2 separate regions of the Homo sapiens genome follow, and region 2 is linked to region 1. The links are contacts of gene promoters, found by promoter capture Hi-C in blood cells and fetal thymus (Javierre and others, 2016). All regions are on one chromosome and are shown on one strand. The core of a region is centred on a gene start or on the middle of the fragment in contact, and the rest is flanking DNA. Distances in the headings are between cores, read along the strand shown. Region 1 holds the start of TUBGCP2 (tubulin gamma complex component 2). Region 2 overlaps LRRC27 (leucine rich repeat containing 27).

Region 1 (4,878 bases), core at 1,013-3,512:
ACCCCATCTCTACTAAAAATACAAAAAAATTAGCCGGGGGTGGTGGCGGGCGCTTGTAGTCGCAGATACTCCAGAGGCTGGGGCAGGAGAATGGCATGAACCCGAGAGGCGGAGCTTGCAGTGAGCCAAGATCACACCACTGCATTCCAGCCTGGGCAACAGAGCGAGACTCTGTCTCAAAAAATAATAATAAAAAAAATAAAAACTACCTTCAGGAAACTTCGTATCTCTTCTAGAAATAGAAGCACAGATGCCCGCACGTCATGAGTGTTCATCCCATGAGGAGCCTGCTGCTCTCCCTGAATGTGGGGACCGGGCCTCCAAGAGGGCAGCCCGTACTCGCACAGAGTCCCTCCCCCCAGAAGACCTTTGGAAAAGTCCTAGGGCAACTCTGGGGTGTCACGGTCATGGAAGGGTGCTCTCGCTACTTAGAGGGCAAGGGCGGGGGATGCTAATCATCAACAGAGCTGTCCCGCCAGAAATGCACAGCGTCCCACTGAAAACACAGCTCTGAGGAACATCTAGCCGTGGCTGCTTCTTGGAGGAACGTCTAGCCATGGCCGCTGACTTGGCCTTCTTGATGCTCCTGAATTCTTACTATTAATCACACAAACTGACAGGCCCAGCAACTGTGACTGGGAGGGACTGACGTCCTCCTCACAGAGGCTGTGAGCTACCGCAGGGACGCGTGCTGAGGGAAGCAATGCACGCATGTCACACTCCACCACGGACAAGCGGGGCACACACTCCTAGTGAGCACACACTCCAAGTGATTAAAACACAGAGGGACGTGAAAAAGAGTCTCTGTTGAGAGCTCAAAGCTAACTGTACAAATTGGTTTGAAAAATGTTATTTTACAACTTGTGGAAAATGTCAAGAGCCCAAAGGCTTTTACAGAGACAGAAAGTACAGTCATGCATCACTCAACATTCTGAGAAATGCCTGGCCAACATGGTGAAAACCAGTCTCTACCAAAAATACAAAAATTGGCCAAGCCTGGTGGCGCACACTTGTAATCCCAGCTACTTGGGAAGCTGAGGCACGAGAATCGCTTGAACCCAGCAGGCAGAGGTTGCAGTGAGCCCAGATCGCGCCACTGCACTCCAGCCTGAGCGACAGAGAGAGACACTATCTCCAAAAGAAAAAAAGAGAAACGTATGGTTACATGATTTCCTTCTGTGCGATCATCAGAGTCACTCGCAGACCTGGATGGTGTACGGCCTACAATGCACCTAAACCACCTAGAGGAGCCTCTTGCTCGTGGGCTACAAACCTGCCCAGCAGGTGGCGGTGCTGAACACTAGACAACTGTAACACAGAGATATTTGTGTATCTAAACATGGAAAAAGTACAGGGGCAGGCATGGTGGCTCACGCCTGCAGTTACAGCTCTTTGGAACGCTGAGGCAGCAGGACCACTTGAGCCCAAGAATTTGAGGCCGCAGCGATCTATCAGCTATGATCGCACCATTGCACTCCAGCCTGGGTGACAGACGAGAAAGCTAAAGCCTCTATCCGCCACTGGGCCCATTCTCTGCAGTAGATCTGAAGCGTCCACTGCTTCCCGCGTGTGTTGTCATTCACCATTTTAATTAGGTGACTCTTTACTCTGACGTCTGTCTCTCCTACAAGGCTGCCGCGCCCTCCTGTGATGCCTTCCCCCACACGCCCTGAGCACCTAGCACAGGTCCTGTGTTTCACGGGAGCTGCGGGGACTGGAGAGGTCGACAGGACCCCGACAAACCAGGAAAGGGCCTTTGAACTAAAGTAACGGGAAGTCACCCAAGGGCTTTAAATTAAAAACGGTTACAATAAAACTGGAGTCACTTTGGCTCCAGTTCGCGACTGGTTTAGAGGGAACAAGATCCAGGGACTGCAGCGGGAGACGACAGGCGGGGCAAGGCGGACGGGAGAGGGCGTGCGAGAGGGGGACCTGCGACCCGGCTTCCCAGGGCTGGGAGGGGACACCCGGGACGACCCGGAGGCCCGCTCCGCCCCGCCCCGGCTGAGTGTCGGGCCGCGGGGCAAGACGCTGGCCTGGCCGGTGCAGGCCCGAAGGGCTTCGGCCCCAGAGTTCGGGGACCGCTGCACAGCCAGAGGGAGCGCGCGGGAAGAGCCGCGTCCCGCCAGCCCCGTCGCCTCGTGGGCCCCCCCGGGCCTGGCAGTCCCCCAACCCCCTCATCACGCCCGCGCCCGCGTTCGGCCAGGACTCACCGCAGTCCCGGAGCCACAGCCCCCGCGCAGCCCCCGACGGCGGCGGAAGTGAGCGTGACGTCACGTCCGGCTCGGCTCGCGGACGGTGGCCGACAGGCTGCGCCCGCCCGCGCCCGGGGTGATGCAGTTGCCCCCCGCGCTGTGCGCCCGCCTCGCTGCGGGGCCCGGGGCGGCGGAGCCGCTGCCTGTAGAGCGGGATCCCGCGGCTGGGGCCGCGCCCTTTCGCTTCGTTGCGCGCCCCGTGCGCTTCCCGCGGGAGCACCAGTTCTTCGAGGTGCGTGAGCAAAAGAGGGAAAAAGTAGTTGTAGGATCCAGTGGGGCCTACGGCGGCGAGGCGGGGCCGGAGCCTGGAGTGGGAGGGGCCTACGACTGCGGGGCGGGGCCGGAGCCTGGGACAGGCGGGACCTGAGGTGGTGGGGCGGGGCCGGAACGTGGAGTGGGCGGGGCCTGAGGCTGTGGGGCGGGACCGGAGCGCGGGATGACTGGGGCCACGGGTGTGGGCGAGGCCTGACGCGGTGGGCGTGCCGCGAGTCACCTGGCCCCGCCCACGGCGCACTTTTCCTGCAGGATGGGGACGTGCAGCGCCACCTCTACCTCCAGGACGTGATCATGCAGGTGGCCGACGTGCCTGAGAAGCCCAGGTAAGCGAATGGGCAGTGCCTAGCCAGTGCTACTCCTGCGCCGCCTCCCTGACCGGTGCCTGGTCCCTGGGGCTGTGCTGCCGCTCTTCCATGTGCGGCCGCCCCACCGAGGCGCTGTGCCTGTCCAGCTTTGGCGTGGCCGACTCTTCCACCACCTAGCCTGTTTGTGAAACTTAATTCATAAAAAGAGGGTTTGGGATTGCAAAAGATGCATAGGGGCTTTATTGGACGTCTCAAAGGGAAACTGTGCAGAAAGTCCAGCTTGGTTCCTCGCACCGGAGGAAGGGCTCCTGAAGCACGTCTCCTTGGCAGGGTGCCCGCGTTTGCCTGCCAGGTGGCCGGCTGCTGCCAGGTGTTCGATGCCCTGGACGACTACGAGCACCACTACCACACGCTGCACGGAAATGTTTGCTCCTTTTGCAAGCGGGCCTTCCCTTCCGGACACCTGCTGGACGCCCACATCCTGGAGTGGCACGATTCGCTCTTCCAGATCCTGTCTGAGAGGCAGGACATGGTGGGTGACAACTGCACAGCCGCCGAGGCCACCCCCCATTGGTGATGGGCTCAGAGTGCTGCCCCCAGCTCTCGGGTGCTCGGGCAAGGCCGGGGACACCTTTCCGCCCTTGGCAGCTCTGCTACGGGGGCATGGCGGTGGGGGAGGGCCAGGGGTCAGAGGGAGGTGACACGGTCTCCATTTCAGTATCAGTGCTTGGTAGAAGGCTGCACAGAGAAGTTCAAGACCAGCAGAGACCGGAAGGATCACATGGTGAGGATGCACCTGTACCCCGCGGACTTCCGGTTTGATAAGCCAAAGAAAAGCAGAAGGTAGGGAGCCGCCAGGCTCAGCACGTGTCTGCTTTTGATTTTAGGAAAAGGTTTCCAACTAGCCGGAATGCATAGACGGTCAGACTTATTAAGCACTTGTGTGTCACCTAATGGGGTGTTCACCTGCAGGTACCTGAAGCCCTGGCAACACAGCTACAGGTGGTTGTGCCAGCGGCCACCCTGCCGAAGGGAGGCTGGAGGGGAGCCCCTGGCTGCCCAGCTCTGTGCCGGTGGAGGCAGCAGAGGGGGTGTGGGAATGAGCGGGCGCAGCGCCTCCGCACTCACACCCCTCTGGGCCATGCCTGTACCTCCTGCAGCAGTCGGCCGTGGTCATCCGCACTCACACCCCTCGGGGCCGTGTCTGTACCTCCTGCAGCCGTCGGCCGTGCTCACACATCATGCAGCCCTGGCTTTCCTTTTGTCCTGGTTGGTTGTGCGCATATGAACTTGATGACAAAGCTGTTGATTAACATGTTCCTGCCTAGAGTGCACTCTGGGAAATACTTCCAGGAACAATCTTTTTTTTTTTTTGAGACAGGGTCTTGCTCTGACACCCAGGCTGGAGTGTAGTGGTGTGATGTAGGTTCACTGCAACCTCCACTTCTCAGGCTCAAGCGATTCTCCCACTTCAGCCTCCTAAAGTGCTAGGACTACCAACACGCATCGCCGCACTCGGCAAAATTTTCTATTTTTTGTAGAGACAGGGTCTTGCTATGTTGCCCAGTCTGGTCGTGAACTCCTGGGCTCAAGCCGTCCATCTGCCTCAGCCTCCCAAAGTGCTGAGATTGTAGGTATGAGCTACCATGTCCAGCCGGAACAATTTTTAAATTGTGTTATATTTCTTCTTTTTTTAACTGATGAGGTGAACTTTCATAATCATCTACAATTTTATTGATCAGAGTTTTTCAGACTCTACATTTTCTCAAGTAGTAATTTGCTCTTTAAAATAAAAGAACTGGGAGAACCCACTGCAATGTGGGAGGCTTTACAAAGACTTACGTGTAAAGTAATTGTCTCCTTTCCGAGGGATCATTTTAAGGAGAAAAACCGTGCAATGCTGGATTAAGACATTCGTATTATGGAAGAGACTAGTTTATAGTCTCTGGTTAACTTTAGCAAATTTCTCACACTCATAAAAAGACCCGTGGCACCGTTGGCACCATAAAAATACTATTTTCAAAAAAAAGTATGATTGTTAC
Region 2 (4,878 bases), core at 343-2,842, 970 kb before region 1:
TGTTGGGTAGGGGCTGTACGGTGCAGGTTCCTCCCCTGGTTCCTCATAGGCAGAGTACTATAGGGTCGCAGTCTTCCTGGACGTTCCCTATTGGTTGTTGGGCAGGGGCTGTAGGTATTTTCTTTAGGGTTGTCCTGCTTTATTTTGTCGTGGCCCACAATGCATTGCAATCCCAGTCAGCTCAGGGGCTCTTCAAGTATTTGATTTATGACCTAAGTAGCTGGGCAGGCTGATAAGAACGGACAAAACGAGCTATTTTGCGGGCTAGTAAACTTTCATCTTAGACTAATCTTCTTTGGTTTGGGTGAGGGCAACTAAGGGGTGGGGAATGGCCAACAAGCAGGCATCGGCTATCCAAGTAGGGGCCTAGTACATCCTGTTTTTCTGTAGTTTGCTGACCTAAGCCAATTCAAGGCACTTTGTCTTGGAAATGGACCACTGTATATATTATTTCCTTCAACCATAACCAGCTCCAAGTCACAGGTGGTGCCTGCATTTCCAGAGGTGCTGGGGAGGAAGAAGAGTGTTATCTTTCTGAGATTCCTTTTACTGGCATTGAGAACGACATGGTTTCAAAGCTGAGCACTGGAATCAGCTTGCCCTGGGGGGGGAAGAACAGGACCAAGAAGTGTAAAACCACTCCTGCAGAGGCCCGAGAAAGGCAGCACGTGGAGGCATGCACATGCCTGTATGTGGGGGGTGCACACCCATATACGTGGGGGCACACACTGTGACCTGTGATTGCCAGGATGCTTTCTGGAGACCGAGCCAGCTGCCAGCAAGCAGTGACTCGGGCAATTTCCTAACAGAGATAAGATAGTGTTTCCAGTGCCTTTCTGAAGAGTGTGATTTTTCCAGTCAGTGTTTCTCCAGTTGGAATCTGTCAGTGATTTGGATCAGGGACACGGTGTTGAGGGCGGAATGGGGAGGCATGTGGTGCTCTGTGCAATGTGCAGTGTGTGTTTCATAGAGAAGGCAACGTAATCACAACAGCCAATCCACGCACTGTTCTTTAGTGCTTGCCCACATTGCCCCGTCTCACAGATGAGGACACTGGAGCACAGAGAGGTTCAGGAACTTGCTCAAGGTCACACAGCCAATAGATTTTGAAACCTAGATGTGGATCCAGGCAGTCTGGCTTTGAGATCATTGTTCCGAACATCTGTTTCTACTCCCTCAGGAAATACAGATATGGATATAAATACATATAATAATGTGAGTATAAACAACTAGCAGCATTAATGACAGTATTGTAAAAATTAGCTATGATCCTTCCACACTGTGACTGTAAAATTGTGTGAATGTTATATGCATTTTACACAGCTAAAATCAGCGTGTATACGTTCATCTTCCACCTTCCCTTATTTGTCACGACTTTACAACGCCACCGAGTTGATGTGTCAATCTGCTTCTGAAATGCTGCTCGCTGAGGCTTTGTTTGCTGCTGATCGTAGAGAACACCACGGCAGACATCTCTGTCCCTGTCTTTTAGTTTCATTTTAATGATTGAGTTGGGCTGAGTCCCCCAGACCAGACATGGCTCTGGCTATTTGCTCAGTAAGCAGGCGATTTCGGGGGCTGCCGAGGGCCAGGTGCTGCGGCAGGCACTGGAGAAACGGCCGAGACACTGAGTGTGGGGCCCCGGAATTCAGACCATGTCAAAGGCTTTGGGATAGAAACAGTGGTGTGCTGGGTCAGCAGCAGAGTGCCGGCTCTTCAGGAAGTCAGTTCCGGCTCCAAAGGCCGCCGGAAGGAGTCCTGGTTCTTTTCTTTCTGATTCTTTTGTCTACTGTTTACATCTTTTAAGGGTAAGAGATTGGGTTTTTGTTTTTTAACTTAGTATATACGGTTCTGGTTGTTAGTAGTTCTTTTGGAAATAGATTTTGGATATATCATGTTTTACAAATTAGTTGGTTAACAAAACATTCTCTGATTCTCTTTTCCATGGAAGCAATTGCATCTGCAAAGGAATGCCCTGTGTGTGATTCCTCAAGATTTCTTTCAGTTGCTTCCGAACCTGACTTGGCTGGACCTCCGGTACAATAGAATTAAAGCGCTTCCTTCTGGGATTGGAGCTCACCAGTAAGTTGTTTATGTTTCCAGATTTTAAAAATCATCTTTTCAGTGCACGAGTGCCTGTTCTTTCGCTCCTTGTCCTTTACTCTTGATTAAATTTTTACCTCGGAATAGAAACATTTAATAGTATTTTTAAAGCCAGCTAAGAGGTTGCGACGGCTGAATGTACCCAACACAGAACTATAACTTGGGATATTTGGTGCCACAGAGAATGCTGTAGCCACAGTGTCTTTTTGCTGGGCAGCCAGTGTGATTTTTGTCACAGCCGATTCCAGCTCTGACTCTCCTTGTGTGAAGCTGTCTGAAAATCAGAAATACCTCTGATGAGTTAAACCAGCAACTTTGGCCAGGCGCGGTGGCTCACGCGTGTAATCCCAGAACTTTGGGAGGCCGAGGTGGGCAGATCACCTGAGGTCAGGAGTTTGAGACCAGCCTGGCCAACATGGCAAAACCCTATCTCTAATAAAAATACAAAAATTTGCCAGGCGTGGTGGTGGGTGCCTGTAATCCCAGCTCCTCAGGAGGTTGAGGCAGGAGAATTGCTTGACCCCAGGAGGCAGAGGTTGCAGTGAGCTGAGATCACACCACTGCACTCCAGTCTGGGTGACAGAGTAAGAGTCCGTCTCAAAAAAAATAAATAAAAAATAAACCAGCTCCTTTGCTCCTGAGGGCTCCTGGGTAACCCACATTGGTTCTTGGCAAATAGTGAGAAATTCTTCTCACTTTGGAAAACTGGGAGCACCCAACCAAGCTCCAGGTGTCCTGTCCATTTCCACCACTTCCCTTCCAGGAGTTTCCTTGCATTCCCACTTGTGGGGTGTAATCCTGCCCATGGTGGAAACGTCACACCTCCTTTCCCCTCCTCAGCCTGGCCCTTCCCCAGCAGCCAGGACTCTACTCTCACTATGGAGACGTCCTCCTTTCCTGAGCTCTCTGCTTCTGTGCCCACATCCCCGGCGCCATGGCTTTTTCACCTTCTGAAGCCATGATTGCCCTTAACTCTTTTTCTTTTCTTTCTTTCTTTTTTTTTTTTTTTTTGAGACGGAATCTTGCTCTGTCTCCCAGGCTGGAGTGCAGTGGCGTGATCTCGGCTCACTGCAACCTCTACCTCCTGGTTTCAAGCGATCCTCTTGCCTCAGCCTCCCAAGGAACTGGAATTACAGGTGCCCGCCACCATGCCCGGCTAATTTTTGCATTTTTAGTAGAAACGGGGTTTTGCCATGTTGGACAGGCTGGTCTCAAAGTCCTGACCTCAAGTGATCTGCCTGCCTTGGCCTCCCAAAGTGCTGGGATGACAGGCATGAGCCCCCGCGCCCGGCTACCTGAACCTCTTTTGACAAGTGCTGATATGAAGGCCCCATATCAGCTGGGGCCACGGCAGCAGCCCATGCAGGAGGGGCAGCCTGGGCGTGGCTGGCCACGGCAGGGCCTGGGTGGGACTTCAGAGCTGGTGGGATGCGGGTGGGTGTGGGGCCACAAGAAGAAGAGGGGTATCCAGGGTGCCCCCAGTTCCTACGTGAGGAATGGTGTCTCCCAAGAGCCATGGTGGCCTCCGTGGGACAGTAGAATAGAGGCTTGTAGGAGGCCCTTCACTTGCCTTGAACTCACTGGTTTTAAAAATGTTTTATAAGAAGTCAGTGTATTTTGCCACAGGTAATGGGAGGGAACCATGCATCACTCACCCTTCAGGCTCTGCGAGGAAGCTGCTTATCTAATGATAGGTGGTGTCCGGAGCAGGTGGAAACACACCCGGTGCATCTCCATGGGGCTCCTAGGGACTCTGGGGTCTGCAGGGCGGACCACAGACGGACCTGGAGGAGAAGAGTGTTCCGGGGCTCAGCTGGTACATCTGCCGAGCCCGGCCAGCCGCTTGTGTTTTGGGAGCTGCATGGGAGCCAGGTGCTCTCTGGGCAGTTGTCCACCCTGTCCTCACGGCCTCGGGAGGCTTCCAAGCCTGAGGCTGAGAGTGCTTTGGGAAGGATTTCTTCTTCACACGATCATCATCTTCTGGGTTTAGAATCACTGGGTGCTCTTTTGTCCACAAATTGTTTTAGCCTTACACAGTTCTGGAGAGTAAGTGCTACTCAGAGGATGTAAATGAACTAAGACCTGTTCCCATAACTACTCGTGTTTTCCCTAAAATAAGTGTACAGTCCTCAAAATTTGAAATTCTTTGATTTTGCTAGTCAAAGCTGGCTGCCTATGTTTTTGGAGGTATACTTTTATTTGTGATTTGTAACCCATGATAACATTCAAATTAGATCAACTACAGAGCTGAGACATATTACTCGGAAATACAAAGTGATTGTGGGCTTATTAAAGCCTTAAACCTCTCAAAACATAATTAAAACAGTGACGGTGTTAGCATGCCACCTTCTCAGTGTCCTGGATGTGTCAGCTTGCTGGCAGAGAGAAGATGTAGGAAGCATGGATCCGTTCATTTACCTCCTTAGGCCAACAAGTCCAACTCAACGTTTACGTTTATATATTCATTTTAAAATCAATGAAACGAATCAACGGGTAAGCTTTGAATTATTGATAGTATTTAAGGAATTAACATTTATCAATTTATCGTTTAAAGTGTGCTCAGAATATTTTAATAATATTATTATATAAGGTAGAAAAACCCGTGCTGTACTTTCAGGTTAATAGTCAGTAAACATGCACCCCCCGCAATCCCTCTCAGGCAAAACCGAACCCAGCCCCACCCAGCAGCACGTGAGTGGGCCAGAACCTTTCTGCCTTGACAAAGCCCTAGCATTGGAGAAGCCGAGAGCGTGGTGCTGCTCTTGCTGCCCTCCT

What was found. Contacts are between HindIII fragments. The CHiCAGO score rates a contact against its expected background, and 5 or more counts as called.
Region 2: a contact is called between a fragment that was not itself captured here and the fragment with the promoter of TUBGCP2 in region 1, in 1 of 17 cell types (monocytes). The highest score is 6.1, in monocytes.

The regions. Positions count from the first base shown.
Region 1 is chr10:133,306,610-133,311,487 of GRCh38, forward strand. TUBGCP2 (tubulin gamma complex component 2) reads right to left here and starts at 2,263. Exons shown (of 18, transcript NM_006659.4): 1 at 2,214-2,263. It overlaps ZNF511-PRAP1 (ZNF511-PRAP1 readthrough), which reads left to right and starts at 2,305. Exons shown (of 9, transcript NM_001396060.1): 1 at 2,305-2,487; 2 at 2,781-2,854; 3 at 3,167-3,368; 4 at 3,555-3,679. The coding sequence starts at 2,335. It overlaps ZNF511 (zinc finger protein 511), which reads left to right and starts at 2,305. Exons shown (of 6, transcript NM_145806.4): 1 at 2,305-2,487; 2 at 2,781-2,854; 3 at 3,167-3,368; 4 at 3,555-3,679. The coding sequence starts at 2,335. RefSeq lists enhancers at 1,440-1,669, 2,393-3,088, 2,496-2,790 and a silencer at 1,900-2,749. The HindIII fragment of the contact is 14,798 bases long and covers 1-4,878 here.
Region 2 is chr10:132,335,614-132,340,491 of GRCh38, forward strand. LRRC27 (leucine rich repeat containing 27) reads left to right here. Exons shown (of 11, transcript NM_030626.3): 3 at 1,952-2,082. Among named protein-coding and RNA genes, the nearest start is that of LRRC27, 5.9 kb to the left of the region's middle. RefSeq lists an enhancer at 111-170 and a silencer at 3,824-3,978. The HindIII fragment of the contact is 6,013 bases long and covers 1-4,599 here.